Linked DNA regions of Homo sapiens: all the other regions are linked to region 3. Evidence: promoter capture Hi-C in 16 types of primary human blood cells and fetal thymus (Javierre and others, 2016). All regions are on one chromosome and are shown on one strand. Each heading gives the region's core, a stretch centred on a gene start or on the middle of the fragment in contact. The rest is flanking DNA. Distances are from core to core; before and after follow the strand shown. Region 1 holds the start of HDAC3 (histone deacetylase 3). Region 2 holds the start of CSNK1A1 (casein kinase 1 alpha 1). Region 3 holds the start of RBM27 (RNA binding motif protein 27). Region 4 holds the start of DIAPH1 (diaphanous related formin 1).

Region 1 (3,076 bases), core at 170-2,669, 4.6 Mb before region 3:
CTCCCAGAAAATGCACACAGGTACATACAGGCAAACAATCTCAAGGGATATAGATTCCTGCACTAACATCACCTCAGTCTTTTCTATGACCAGTCCATTTGTCTGTGCCTTGGCACAAGCAATGAACATTCATTCATATTGTTCACTAGTTTCCCTAGCAACACATAAAGCCTGGGTTTAGCTGTTTTGTCTTATTTTTTCTTTTGAGACAAGGTCCTCCCTGTCAACTCAGGCTGCTGATCATAGATCACTGTAACTTTAAACTCCTGGGCCCAAGCCATCCTCTCGCCTCGGCCTCCCAAGTAGTTGGGACTACAGGCACACCCACCGCACATGGCTACTTTTTTTATTTTTATTTTTTGTAGATGTGGGTCCCACTGTGGCCCAAGCTGGTCTCCAACTCCTGGCCTCAAGCGATCCCCCCCATTTCAACCTCCCAAAGTGCTGGGATTACAGGCATGGGCCACCACGCCTGGCGTGGCTTAACTGTTACTATCCCATATCACAGCCATAAATTCCAAGCTGGGAAGACAGCATGTGTATGTCTGGTAGATGAAAAACTGGATAGCGATTAAGCAGAACCATGTAGAGGTATTCCAGGCTGAAAAAGGAATATCTAAAATATCGCCTCTGTTCCACACGCACATACACATTTACAAAGACGGCAGCATCGTTCCACCCTGGAGCCCTAGCTCCTTGGAGGTAAAGAAAGGTGGTAAAAGAGGAGTGGGAACTGAGGGTAAACCTCACACCCTGATACAGTGATATCCGCTCCCCTAACCCTAATTCCTGAGGCCAAGGCCCTATCCACACTCTAAAATGCAGAGGAGGAACACACCTTCTGTCTTCAAACCAGCCCCACATCACGCTAACCCTAGGCCAAGGGCTAGTGTGCCTACAGTCAGAGGGTGGCCGACCTGAGGTGAGAAAGTACTTTCCATTAAGCAGAGGACGCCACCCCCAACACCCTGCACTTTCAAGGTACTCCTGGTGACTTCTATCCAGCTCCCCGATACTCTAGGGGCGGGTCGCACTTCATGCACTCAGTCCAGCCCACCTATCCCTACGGCCACAGCTCGCCCCACCCCCCAACCCCCGGCCGAGGCGGCGGAACTCACGATCATCTTCTTATAGAGACCGTAATGCAGGACCAGGCTATGGGTCAATGCCAGGCGATGGGGCTTCATAGGGTGTCCAGCTCCTGGGGGTGGGGAGAAGAGAGTTCGTCAGCTCTCACCCCTGGAGTTGCAACCCCGCCTCAAAACCTCCGTGTCCCAACCCCTCATGCATATCCCTGTTTCCTCACCGTAGTGGAAGTTGCCCACGTCGGGGTCGTAGAAATAGGCCACGGTCTTGGCCATGGTGCCGGCGGGAGCAGGCCCCGCACCTCCGCCGCCCGCCGCCCGCGGCCGCCGCCAGCCCCTCCCCGGCCGTGCGTGCTGCGCAAGCACGTAGCCGGCCTCTGCGGAACTGGGCGTTGCGGCCCCGCCTCCATCCACACCCAGGCCACGCCCCCAGGGGAGCTCCGCCCCTCGCCCGGCTCAGCTCTCCCGGTATCTGGGGCTTTGAGCGTCCCGGGTTGGGCAGGGAACTGGCAGCATAGCTCCTAGGATGCGAGGGCCATTTGTCTCCGGCCGGGGGTCAGATCCTCGGGAAGCCGAGCCATCCCATCCAGCCGCTTGCCCCAAACCGGGCGCAGGCCGTGGTCACTTCTCTAGGAAGCTCCGAAGATCCCGCCACTCCGTCCCTCAAAGGTGCGGAAAGCCGGCTTCCCCCAGCCCTCGGAGAAGATTCCTGACTCTCCGCTCGGTCGGGGCATCTGAGGGCAGGAGCTGCGCCAGGCGTACCGGATAGACCAGTGGACAACACCCACGCCGGACCGCCTGTCCCCTACCCGGACCCAGACTCGGCGCCGCACATTGCCCCGGGGGGGCCCGGCGCAGTCACGCGCGCGCAGAGCTCACGCTCTCCGCCCCGCACACCTGCGCTCCGCCCCCTGGTCCTGGGCCCGCGACGGGTGAAGGCATTTGGGAAGCCAGGGCGGCTGCGGAGGCGATCTCCCTGACCCAGGGCCGGAGTTGCCCGGAGCCTGCCACCGCTCTCAGCCAGCCCGCATCCTTCTCTGTTCTTCCCTCCCCCCGCCTGCCACGGCGCGGGTATCCGCAGCCACAGCCCGGGGCCGGTGAGGCGGCGAAGGGGGAGGGGAGGAATCAAGGGATGAGCGCCGGAAGGGCGTCGGGGGCCCTGAGCCGCACTAGGACGCCCCTGGAGCCGGAACCCCAGCAGAAGCCGGAACCAGAACCAAATCACCGGTACCGGGTCGGCCAGGTGGTCAGGGTGGGAGAAACCAAAAAGGGAGAGGGGTGCGGGAGTACTGAGAGGAAGGGGCTGCAGAGGCCTGGCTCAGGCCGGCGTGGAGGAGGTGCGGGCGCTGACTCAGGCAGGATTTCTGCTCCCGCCGCCTAAGAATGCCGTCCCATCTCGTGCTGCAGTGTCCTTGGGAGGGACAGAAGCGCGAACAAGCTGGAAAGGGGAACGCTCGGGGCGTCGGGGAAGCGGGACCAGGGTCGTGGTAGAGAGCTTGCGTTGCCGCTGACCTCTTGCCGAAAGGCGAAACAGCACTCCTGGCCCGGACAGCTCCCTGGTTGGGTAGGGGGTGGGGCCGGACCTCAGCCGGACGTCTTAGACGTGCTTGTTTCAGATCCTGAGGACGGCATTCCTACCCCTCCCCCATTCCCAGCTGCAGCCCCCTAAACCCAGGAGGCGCCCTGGCCCGCGCTCGCCCCCCAGGGCCTCATGTCGGAACCACAGCCTGACCTGGAACCGCCCCAACATGGGCTATATATGCTCTTCCTGCTTGTGCTGGTCTTCTTCCTCATGGGCCTGGTAGGCTTCATGATCTGCCACGTGCTCAAGAAGAAGGGCTACCGCTGCCGCACGTCGAGGGGCTCTGAGCCTGACGATGCCCAGCTTCAGCCCCGTGAGTGAGGAGCCTGGAACCCTGGCTCAGTCACCTTTCACCCTTCTCCCCACACCTCTGCCTCCCTGACCAACAGACCCAGGCCAAATCCTGATC
Region 2 (2,700 bases), core at 101-2,600, 3.3 Mb after region 3:
GCCAACCCCACCTTGAAGAATCTTATAGAGCTTGCTCTCGTACAGCAACTGGGGATGCCTGGCCTTCTGAGATTCTAGCTTCACTGCCACTTCCTGCAGGGGAAAGAGGGGATGATGGCATCAACATCCCTACGGATTCAATGTCACTTAGGAAAGGAGGGAGACATTAGCAAAACTCCAAGTCGCGACTACAAGAAGAAGTGAAAAGCTGGAAAGAGAAAGCTCTCGGTAATTATAAAACGAGGCAACCAGCCTCAAAGGCCTCTTCAGGGGGTAGTGACGAAATCCGTACGTCCTCTAAAGTGCAGGAAAATGATTCATCCAGAAAAAAGAGGCAACCTCTGAACGTAGTGAGAGGTTTTTAAGGAACTAGGCGATCGGAAACTGTTCTAATTGGAACAAGAGGCCCAGTAGAATTAAGAATTAAAAAAAAAAAAACATGGGAATCACTGAAAGAGGATTTTGCCGTTTCCACCTTAAAAGACGGTTAAAAAAAAAAAAAGCTCGACTAAGGGACATTTATGGGACGTGTTTAACAAGGTGGGAAACTAGTTCCCCCAACCTTTCTATCGGGTTCTTGACCCTTTTAGGGAGACAGCGGACGAGGTTCGTAAGCCAGGAAAACTAGCTCCCTGGACTCCCTGGCGAGTGCGTGCGATGAGGAGAGGCCCGAGCACTTTGGGGGTGCACGGTGGTGGTGGGGGGAATGAGTAAAAGCGCAGCGTTATCGTGAACCCCACCCCAGATGATTACCTCGCCGTTGGTGATGTTGATCGCCAAATAGATGTCCCCGAAGGAGCCAGACCCGATCTTCCGTACCAGTTTATATTTCCCTCCGACAATGAATTCAGCCTTGGAGCCGCTGCTACTCGCCATCCTGAGAGACGAAGATGGAGGCTGGGGCCAAGCCCCGACACCTCTGGGAAGAGGACGGAGGCCTCGGGGCTCCTACACTAGGCAAGGCTACGGAGGAGGGCGGCAGGAAACGGAACACGGAGGCCTTTACCGGGGTTCGGGGCCCAGAATCAGCAGAGGGGAACCTGATCACCGCCGCTCAGTCAGGTTTCTTTTTGCCAGGCCGCAGTTTGTGAAGGGCTTCTCGGCGGTTACCAGGCTGGGCCACTTGTTTCTCGGCGGCCGCCGCTGCCTCGCTTGCGCGGCGACGTCGCGGGCTGGAAAAGGGGCGCGGTGAGCTAGGGCGGCGATACCGCTGCCACCACTGCCGCCGGCTCCGGCCCAGAGGGACCCCTGTCACTCCGCGGACGACGCCATCTTGTTACTCCAGCTCCAGCCAACACAAAATGCCCCCAGTCCCCGGGAGCCGCTTCTTCACGGCGCAGAGCACTCTGGGAAAGGGATCTCGGGCGCTCGCTCCGAAGGATCGGCAGCGAGAGGGCGGAACCGGATCCGTGAGAGTCGCGGCCCACGCTCCGAGCGTCACCCTGTCACCGCCCAGCTGCGCATGAGCGCTGCAACTCCTGCTGACTGCGCAGGCGTGCCGCGGCCTGTCCTCACCCCCGTCCCGGGCTCTCTTCCACTTCCGGTCGGCGGCGGCTCAGCAGGTGTTACCTGTTACTCGCCTCGGACCCGCCGGGTCTCTGGAAGGCTGAGTGGCCCCCCGGCCTTGATATTGGGAGGAGTCACCTTCATGTTTCGTGGCAGATGAAAGCTTAAGGCCTCCTTAGGAGTTGGGTATTGACCTGTGCTCTTTGAGGCGGTTTTTAACCTTTGATCTTTCTTCTGGCCGTTCCCCCGGACCGGCCTATTCCAACCCAGTTTCTGTTTGGAAAGAGGCTGTCGCCTCTGGTGGAGAGGAAGAGAAAAGCAGCCAGCGTCGAGGAATCTCTCAGGGCTCTCGGTTGTAGCAGAGCCTAGCTAATTACCCTTCATAATTAGAATTGTCCTATCTACTACGGAGTGTTATAGACCCTCTTTCCACAGGAGGGGAAGAAAGAAAGAAGCCGGAATCCCCCTGCCATCCTATGTCTTTGCATTATTGCCTCACTACCACATATGATCTTCAGAAGAAAACCTGGTATGTTGCTCATAATGAAGATTAAGGATAGATGGAATCAACAGAAAATTAATTTAACAAGAGTGAAAAAACTGTTATGTCCCCTCAACCCCACCAAAAAAAAAAAAAAAAAAAAAAAAAAGAATCGTATGTTGGTCTTGTTGAAAACCTCAGTATTAACCTGAACAGAGTAGAGGTAACTATTACAAAATTTAATTGACAACATTTAAAACTACACGGTAATTTTTTTCTTTTTTACAAAAAATCGATCAGAGAATCAAATTTTGACCACGTTTTGTTTTACAAAATTTGACCTGGGAAAATTGGGCTTAGTAATAATAATGTTCACGAAAGAAAACTCCATGGTTGATGCTATCATCTTAAGTCAGACCTCAGTCGTAAAAATTTAAGCTAAGCCTATCCTAAATAAAATTTAATTAAAATAGAAATGGGGGGCGGGCGCAGTGGCTCACGCCTGTAATCCCAGCACTTCGGGAGGCCGGGGCGGGCAGATCACTTGAGGTCAGTTGTTCGAGACCAGCCTGGCCAACATGATGAAACCCCGTATCTACTAAAAATACAAAAATTAGCCGGGTGTGATGGCGCACACTTGTAACCCCAGCTATTCGGGAGTCTGAGAATCGCTTGAACCCGGGAGGCGGAGGTTGCGGTGAGACTAGATCACG
Region 3 (2,705 bases), core at 84-2,583:
GAAAAGATAATATTTCATGGTATGTGAAAATTATATAAATTTAAAATTTTATATAATTTTAATAAATGTTTGTAATACAGCCACAATCATTCCATTTACATATTGTCCCTGGTTAATTTTAAGCCAAGACATTGTATGACGAGTAGTTGCCATAGATACCTCAAGGCTCACAAAACCAAAATATTTAGTATCTGATCCTTTGCAGAAGTTTGCCTATACCTGTTCTATGTATATATAGGATGTCTGTTTATTTGAGGTTGATCCATTTCTTTTATATGAGGTGCGTGCTCATTAGGTATTTTTCAAAATGTTATTACAATGCATAACCCCATAAACTGTTCATCATCTTAAGAGGAGAAGCTCTGTTTTGCTCAGCATTGGACTCCTAGTGCCTTACTCAGTGCTGGCAATTGCAGGGACTCAGTATATGTTATTGGGTAAACATTTTAACATCAGTGCTAAATCAGTGATTTCAAAACTCCAGAAAGAATTTCTCACCTACTAGAAAGTAAGTTGACTATTTCAGTAGTTTCTAATTTGTCTTAAAAATTTTTTTGTAATCCTTCTTTGCTGATTAAAATTCTCCCTTCCCGTCCCCCAACCACTGAATTTTAGATATACAATGAAAAGATAATTAAAAACAAACTATTGGAGTCATTTTTCTTCCTAAATAAAGCAACATTTATTAATAGTACTAGCAAAATTGAAATGGCCTCAGCCTTTTACATCCGTGCGCCACGTTTTAAAAATGACGATTACTGGATTCCAAGGCATGGTTGTCAGAAACATTCTGCGTAATTAAAGCAGAGCAGCAGAAAATACAAACGTGAGTGCCAATCAACATGAGTGTGTAAAGAAAAAAAGTAAAATTTTGCATTCTGTGCAATGTGTCGAACGTGAACGTATTGCACGTTGTGTTGCAGATTTACTACAGCTGAGTCATTTCGGGACACGAGTGTGTGTTTCCAAGAAAAACGAGAGGAAGGAACCAGGCTGAGGGGCTCGCCGGGTTCCCCCAGGCACTCCCAGCAGCAGACACCGGTATTCCGCGGCGGGCGGCGGCGTGGTCAAAAAAAGGCGCCGCTGCCCCTTTAAGAGGCAAAGCACCTTTTCCAAGATACCATCTTGCACCAGGAGTTCACTTAAGCTCTCCACCTACCTTGCTATATCTCTCCTCCCTGACTGGGTACCGCCTGCCGGCGGGGCGAGCGAGCCTTTTCATTGGTCTTGCCCTCAGGGCCCCCTCTCTCTTACTGGTTCTCAGGCCTGCCACTCGGCACTGTCTCCCGCCCACCTCAGCCTTCGGGCTAGGTTGAGTGAGGGCTCTTGGGTTAGTTCCTGTTAGGCCCCGGCCGGGGGAGTAGGTTGAAGTCTCCTAAGATGCCCGGTGGGCTGGGGCACCGGGAGCTGTGAAGGGAACGTGAGGGGGCGGCGTAGTGGAGACCCACGGCAGGCCTGAAGAAGAGCGGCGGCCGAGCCCGCCTTCCCTGCACCATGCTCATAGAGGATGTGGATGCCCTCAAGTCCTGGCTGGCCAAGTTACTGGAGCCGATGTGAGTGAGCCGGGCTGGGCCGGGGCCGGCGAACGTGGGCGTTGGGGGCTCGCGGGGGCGTGGGGGAGGGGAGGTGGCGTGGGGGGCGGCGCTGAGGGGCCGCGGCCGGGAGGTCCCGGCGACGCCTTCCCTGTAGTACTATCACCATTGTGGTGGGGGTGAGGGTGGGAGAGGAGCGCTGGGGACGGAGAGGCGCCGTGAATATGGGGACTGGGGGGGCAGGCAAGGACAGCGAAGGCTTTTCAAACGCAAATATCGGGGTGCTGGAAGGGGTAGCAGGGGCCGTGAGGGAATTTAAAACATTGCTGTTTGAGAACTGAGAGAGAGGTAACGGGGCTCTTGAGGGATTTTTAAAATGTGAATATTGAGATGTCGAAGGGAATAGCAGAATATCAAGGGTTTGATAAACATTATTATTCCGGGACTGAAAGGTCTAGAAGCAAAATATCGAGGGCATTTTCGAAATATGAGGGCAGAAGCGGATAGCAGGGACATTGAAACTGTATAGCGATTATTGGTAAGTTCTGAGGGATCAAGAATATTGAAGGATTTGAAAAATACTATGGAGTAGATGAAAAGGATGTGTGGGCATTGAAGGGTTTTAGAAATTATTGGGGAGGTGATAAGTGTGATAGCAAGGATATTAAGGGATTTTAAAGTATTATTGAGGGCTTGATAGTGCTAGGGGAACTGATGACTTTTAGATACATAGAGGTTGGAAAAAAGAGGTTTCTGTAAGTTTAGTTGAAGGTTGAAAGGGCTACACTGGTATGCAGCATTAATTGGTGGAGGAGTATACCTAACAGTATGTAGGGATTTTTAGATACAGGTGGTGTTGGAGGAATAAAAGGAGCGGTAGAAAGAATAAGAGATTTGTAAGTATTCTTGTGCCATTGAGAGGACAGTTTTGTAAATGTTTTTGTAAGATTGAGAGGACACCTGAAGATAATTGGGGTGTAGTATGAGGGACCGAAAAGAATGAGAGACCTGTCTTTTAAAAATATTTTGGGTGGTGTTAGTAGAAATGTTATTGGGAGGCTTGAAAGAGGTAACAGATGTATCAACATTTTGTTTTATAACCTTTTTTTTTTGAAACAATGTCTCGCTGTGTCTCCCAGGCTGGAGTGCAGTGGCTGGATTTCGGCTCACTGC
Region 4 (2,791 bases), core at 113-2,612, 4.6 Mb before region 3:
GAAGACAAAAGAGCTACAGTTATAACTAGCTATTATAATGATCATCAATATCCAAGACTTTTCCTCTCCTGGACAGTGCCCCGTATCTTACAAAGCTTTTATAGCAAAAAAGCAACCAAACGGCTCCCTGGAGAGAGGCGTTGGTGTGGGCAAAAGGTAATGAAATATGATAGGGTTACATGTATATCACTATTCCTTCACTCGGATTGAAAGTAACTGGCACTTGAGGAAAGCTTACTCTTCTACAGGCACGCAAAGGGAAGCCGATAGTCGCCTTGGGGCACAAGAGGCAGTAGAAAAGGAGTAGAGGAGACGGTTATCATGGGAAATGTATAAAAAACAATTCAATTACAAACTTCTTGAACTCGCAGTCCAACTTTCTTCCCACAGGAGAGGTTTATCACCATCCTAGGTCAAGAAGGGCACAATCATGAGAGTTCTAATCCTCTGAAAAGTGATAAGCAACAGGGCAAAGAGAGAGGTTCTCTGGAGAGAGGAATACTGGTAAACAAATAAACGTCATGCCCCAGTGACCATAGGACCTGGGCAGGAGCCCATTCCTGTAATCGCAAGGACAAACGTCCAAAGAAGGAGTTGGGGGTAGGGCTCAAGTCAGGTAACATTCCTCAGGGGAAGGATTATCAAGTGACACCGGGCGGAGGGCCCACGGGGGACTGGGCGGGAGGAAAGTTAGCAGGTAAAAAGGATGAATCATGGAGAAGGAAGTGACCTTTAGGAGAAGGAAATACGAGAATACCAAAAAAGGTGTAAGGTTAAGAAGAGAAAATGGACCCAGAAGAGGGGACCAAAAAAGAGGAGGCGTGTTCGGGTACTGGAGGAAGAAGAAAGGAAGTGAGGCTGAGAGGGGAGAGACGGGGCTGAGAGCCGGCCGGGGATATGCGGGCGGGAGGGCAGAATGTAAGGGCTGGGGAACGAGGGAAGCCCCGAGGTGGCCGGGGCAAGAGCCGGGTGGGATTCCGGGGCTTCCCGAGGTCCCGAAGGGAGAGGATGTCGGGCTGCAGAGCTGCGGACCGAGCGAAACGAGGAAGGAAGGCGCGGGGGCGGCTCCCCAAAGCCGGGCAGGCGCCCCAGGGGCCGGCTGCAGGGGTCCAGAGGGCGGTTACGGGGCCAGGCAGGAGCGGGATGGGAGGGACACTCACAAATTTCTTAGATTTGCCGCCGTCGCCGCCCGCCGAGGGCAGCTCATCTGGGCTCCGGCCCTTCTTCTTGTCCCGGGTCCCGCGGCCGGGCCCCAGGCTCCCGCCGGGCGGCTCCATGTCCCGGTTCACGCTGGCCGGCGACCCCGCGCCTACGCCGCTCCCGCCTGGCAGCTCCGCGCCCGCCGCCGCCCAGTCGCTCTTTAGCCAGCCGCCGCGCCCCGCCTCATTAGCATGCCGGGCTGCGCGCGCCTCATGAATATACAACGACGACGCCTCGCTCCCGCCCGCCTGCCCCACTTCCGCCCGGACCCGCAGCCCCTACCAATGGGGGAAGGGAGAGGGGCGGAGGGAAGCCGCGGAAGCGCGCTACCTGCCCAGCGGACCTAACCATTCGGACCCACGTGGGGGGGGGTGGTGAGTGGGCGGTGCAGCTCTCCGCGGCCGCGGCGGAGAGCACCGCCCCCTGGCGGTTGGAGCAGCGCAGGCCTCTGGCTCCCACGCAGCGCCCACGTGGCTGTACAGCCTGACAGCCTGGACCCTCTCACATCCCAGACCAAAAATCGCGTGAGACCATTATCCTGGCAGAAAATTAGTGACAGGTTTTCCAAGAGAATGCAGTTTTCAATGTGTGCAATACCCATGGAACACATGAAAAAAATTATAGTGATAGCCACCATGTTTTGAAAGCAAGGTAGCAAGAACAGAGCTCGGTCCAGGGCAAGCACTAGACTAAACCAGACTCGCTCTGGAGTTTAATTTCCTAGTTCGAATTCCAGGTTAGGTACCATCTAATTGTTTCTAATCAGGACAAACTAATTATTGCCAACATGTGCCTAAACAGCAATAACAGTTACCACTTAACCATGCCCTTTGCTCTCTGCTAGGCACTAGGCAAACACTCTACATGTATTTTTCTAAGTCCCCACAGTCCCATGTGATAGATTCTGCTAGCCTCACCATTTTATAAATAGTAAATTTGGACTTTTGAGAGTTGAAGTGACTTGCCCAAGAACGCATAATTGATATAAAATTTAAACCCAGCTTAGTCTGATTTGCTGCCAAACCCTATGTTTAACCAGGATTCCCCACTGACATAAACCAAACATGAGTGAAAAGAATGAGTATTCTCCAAGAGTATATTCTTTGCTCTTCTAGCATGACTTTCTCCCTAAGCAATTTCATCCATTCTCCCAGCTACATCTGTCCCTTGTGTGACAGTTACGTGGCTACCAGTCGGCCTTCACAATATGGACTGAATATTCTTGACCACAGCTAGCAAGATTTCAAGCATAAGTTCCTGAAGGGCAGAGTCAGTGACTTACTTACTCTAGAGCCCCAGTACCTAGTCAAGGGCCTGAGATATACCAGGGACTCTGCCAAGCTGGCTGGCTCCTAAATTTGGCATTCATCTCTCTTGTGGTCCAGACCTTCTGATGGTGATCGGATAGAATGTTACATAGAGCTGTCCATCCCATACTTCAAACTTGACTTAGTGCTGAGCTTTCCAGACATTTTGTCTAAAAAGTCCAAAAGCTACTTTCTAAGCTAGTGTTGAGAACAGACAGAATCAGAGAATGGAGGGGAGGAAGTGACCCATCTATCAGTCCTCTTTCTTGTATCAGTCTGTATCT

Evidence for each region. The method cuts DNA at HindIII sites, captures the fragments that hold promoters and counts their contacts. A CHiCAGO score of 5 or more calls a contact.
Region 1: a contact is called between the fragment with the promoter of HDAC3 here and the fragment with the promoter of RBM27 in region 3, in 1 of 17 cell types (neutrophils). The highest score is 5.1, in neutrophils.
Region 2: the fragment with the promoter of CSNK1A1 here is called in contact with the fragment with the promoter of RBM27 in region 3 in 1 of 17 cell types (fetal thymus); the score reaches 7.2 in fetal thymus.
Region 4: the fragment with the promoter of DIAPH1 here is called in contact with the fragment with the promoter of RBM27 in region 3 in 1 of 17 cell types (naive CD8 T cells); the score reaches 5.0 in naive CD8 T cells.

The regions. Positions count from the first base shown.
Region 1 is chr5:141,635,430-141,638,505 of GRCh38, forward strand. HDAC3 (histone deacetylase 3) reads right to left here and starts at 1,420. Exons shown (of 15, transcript NM_003883.4): 1 at 1,307-1,420; 2 at 1,119-1,201. The coding sequence starts at 1,361. It overlaps RELL2 (RELT like 2), which reads left to right and starts at 1,568. Exons shown (of 7, transcript NM_173828.5): 1 at 1,568-2,980. The coding sequence starts at 2,797. RefSeq lists silencers at 893-1,187, 1,197-1,246, 1,307-1,596 and enhancers at 2,107-2,156, 2,857-2,976. The HindIII fragment of the contact is 11,354 bases long and covers 1-3,076 here.
Region 2 is chr5:149,550,089-149,552,788 of GRCh38, forward strand. It overlaps CSNK1A1 (casein kinase 1 alpha 1), which reads right to left and starts at 1,351. Exons shown (of 10, transcript NM_001892.6): 1 at 754-1,351; 2 at 1-93. The coding sequence starts at 876. It also overlaps a transcript of ARHGEF37 not described here. RefSeq lists enhancers at 1-612, 859-918, 1,049-1,108, 1,139-1,808, 1,508-2,301 and 1 more. The HindIII fragment of the contact is 4,606 bases long and covers 1-1,667 here.
Region 3 is chr5:146,202,272-146,204,976 of GRCh38, forward strand. It overlaps RBM27 (RNA binding motif protein 27), which reads left to right and starts at 1,334. Exons shown (of 21, transcript NM_018989.2): 1 at 1,334-1,553. The coding sequence starts at 1,495. It overlaps RBM27-POU4F3 (RBM27-POU4F3 readthrough), which reads left to right and starts at 1,334. Exons shown (of 20, transcript NM_001414499.1): 1 at 1,334-1,553. The coding sequence starts at 1,495. RefSeq lists enhancers at 770-919, 1,390-1,549. The HindIII fragment of the contact is 5,706 bases long and covers 1-2,705 here.
Region 4 is chr5:141,617,638-141,620,428 of GRCh38, forward strand. It overlaps DIAPH1 (diaphanous related formin 1), which reads right to left and starts at 1,363. Exons shown (of 28, transcript NM_005219.5): 1 at 1,161-1,363. The coding sequence starts at 1,277. RefSeq lists silencers at 941-1,137, 948-997, 1,058-1,717. The HindIII fragment of the contact is 3,913 bases long and covers 232-2,791 here.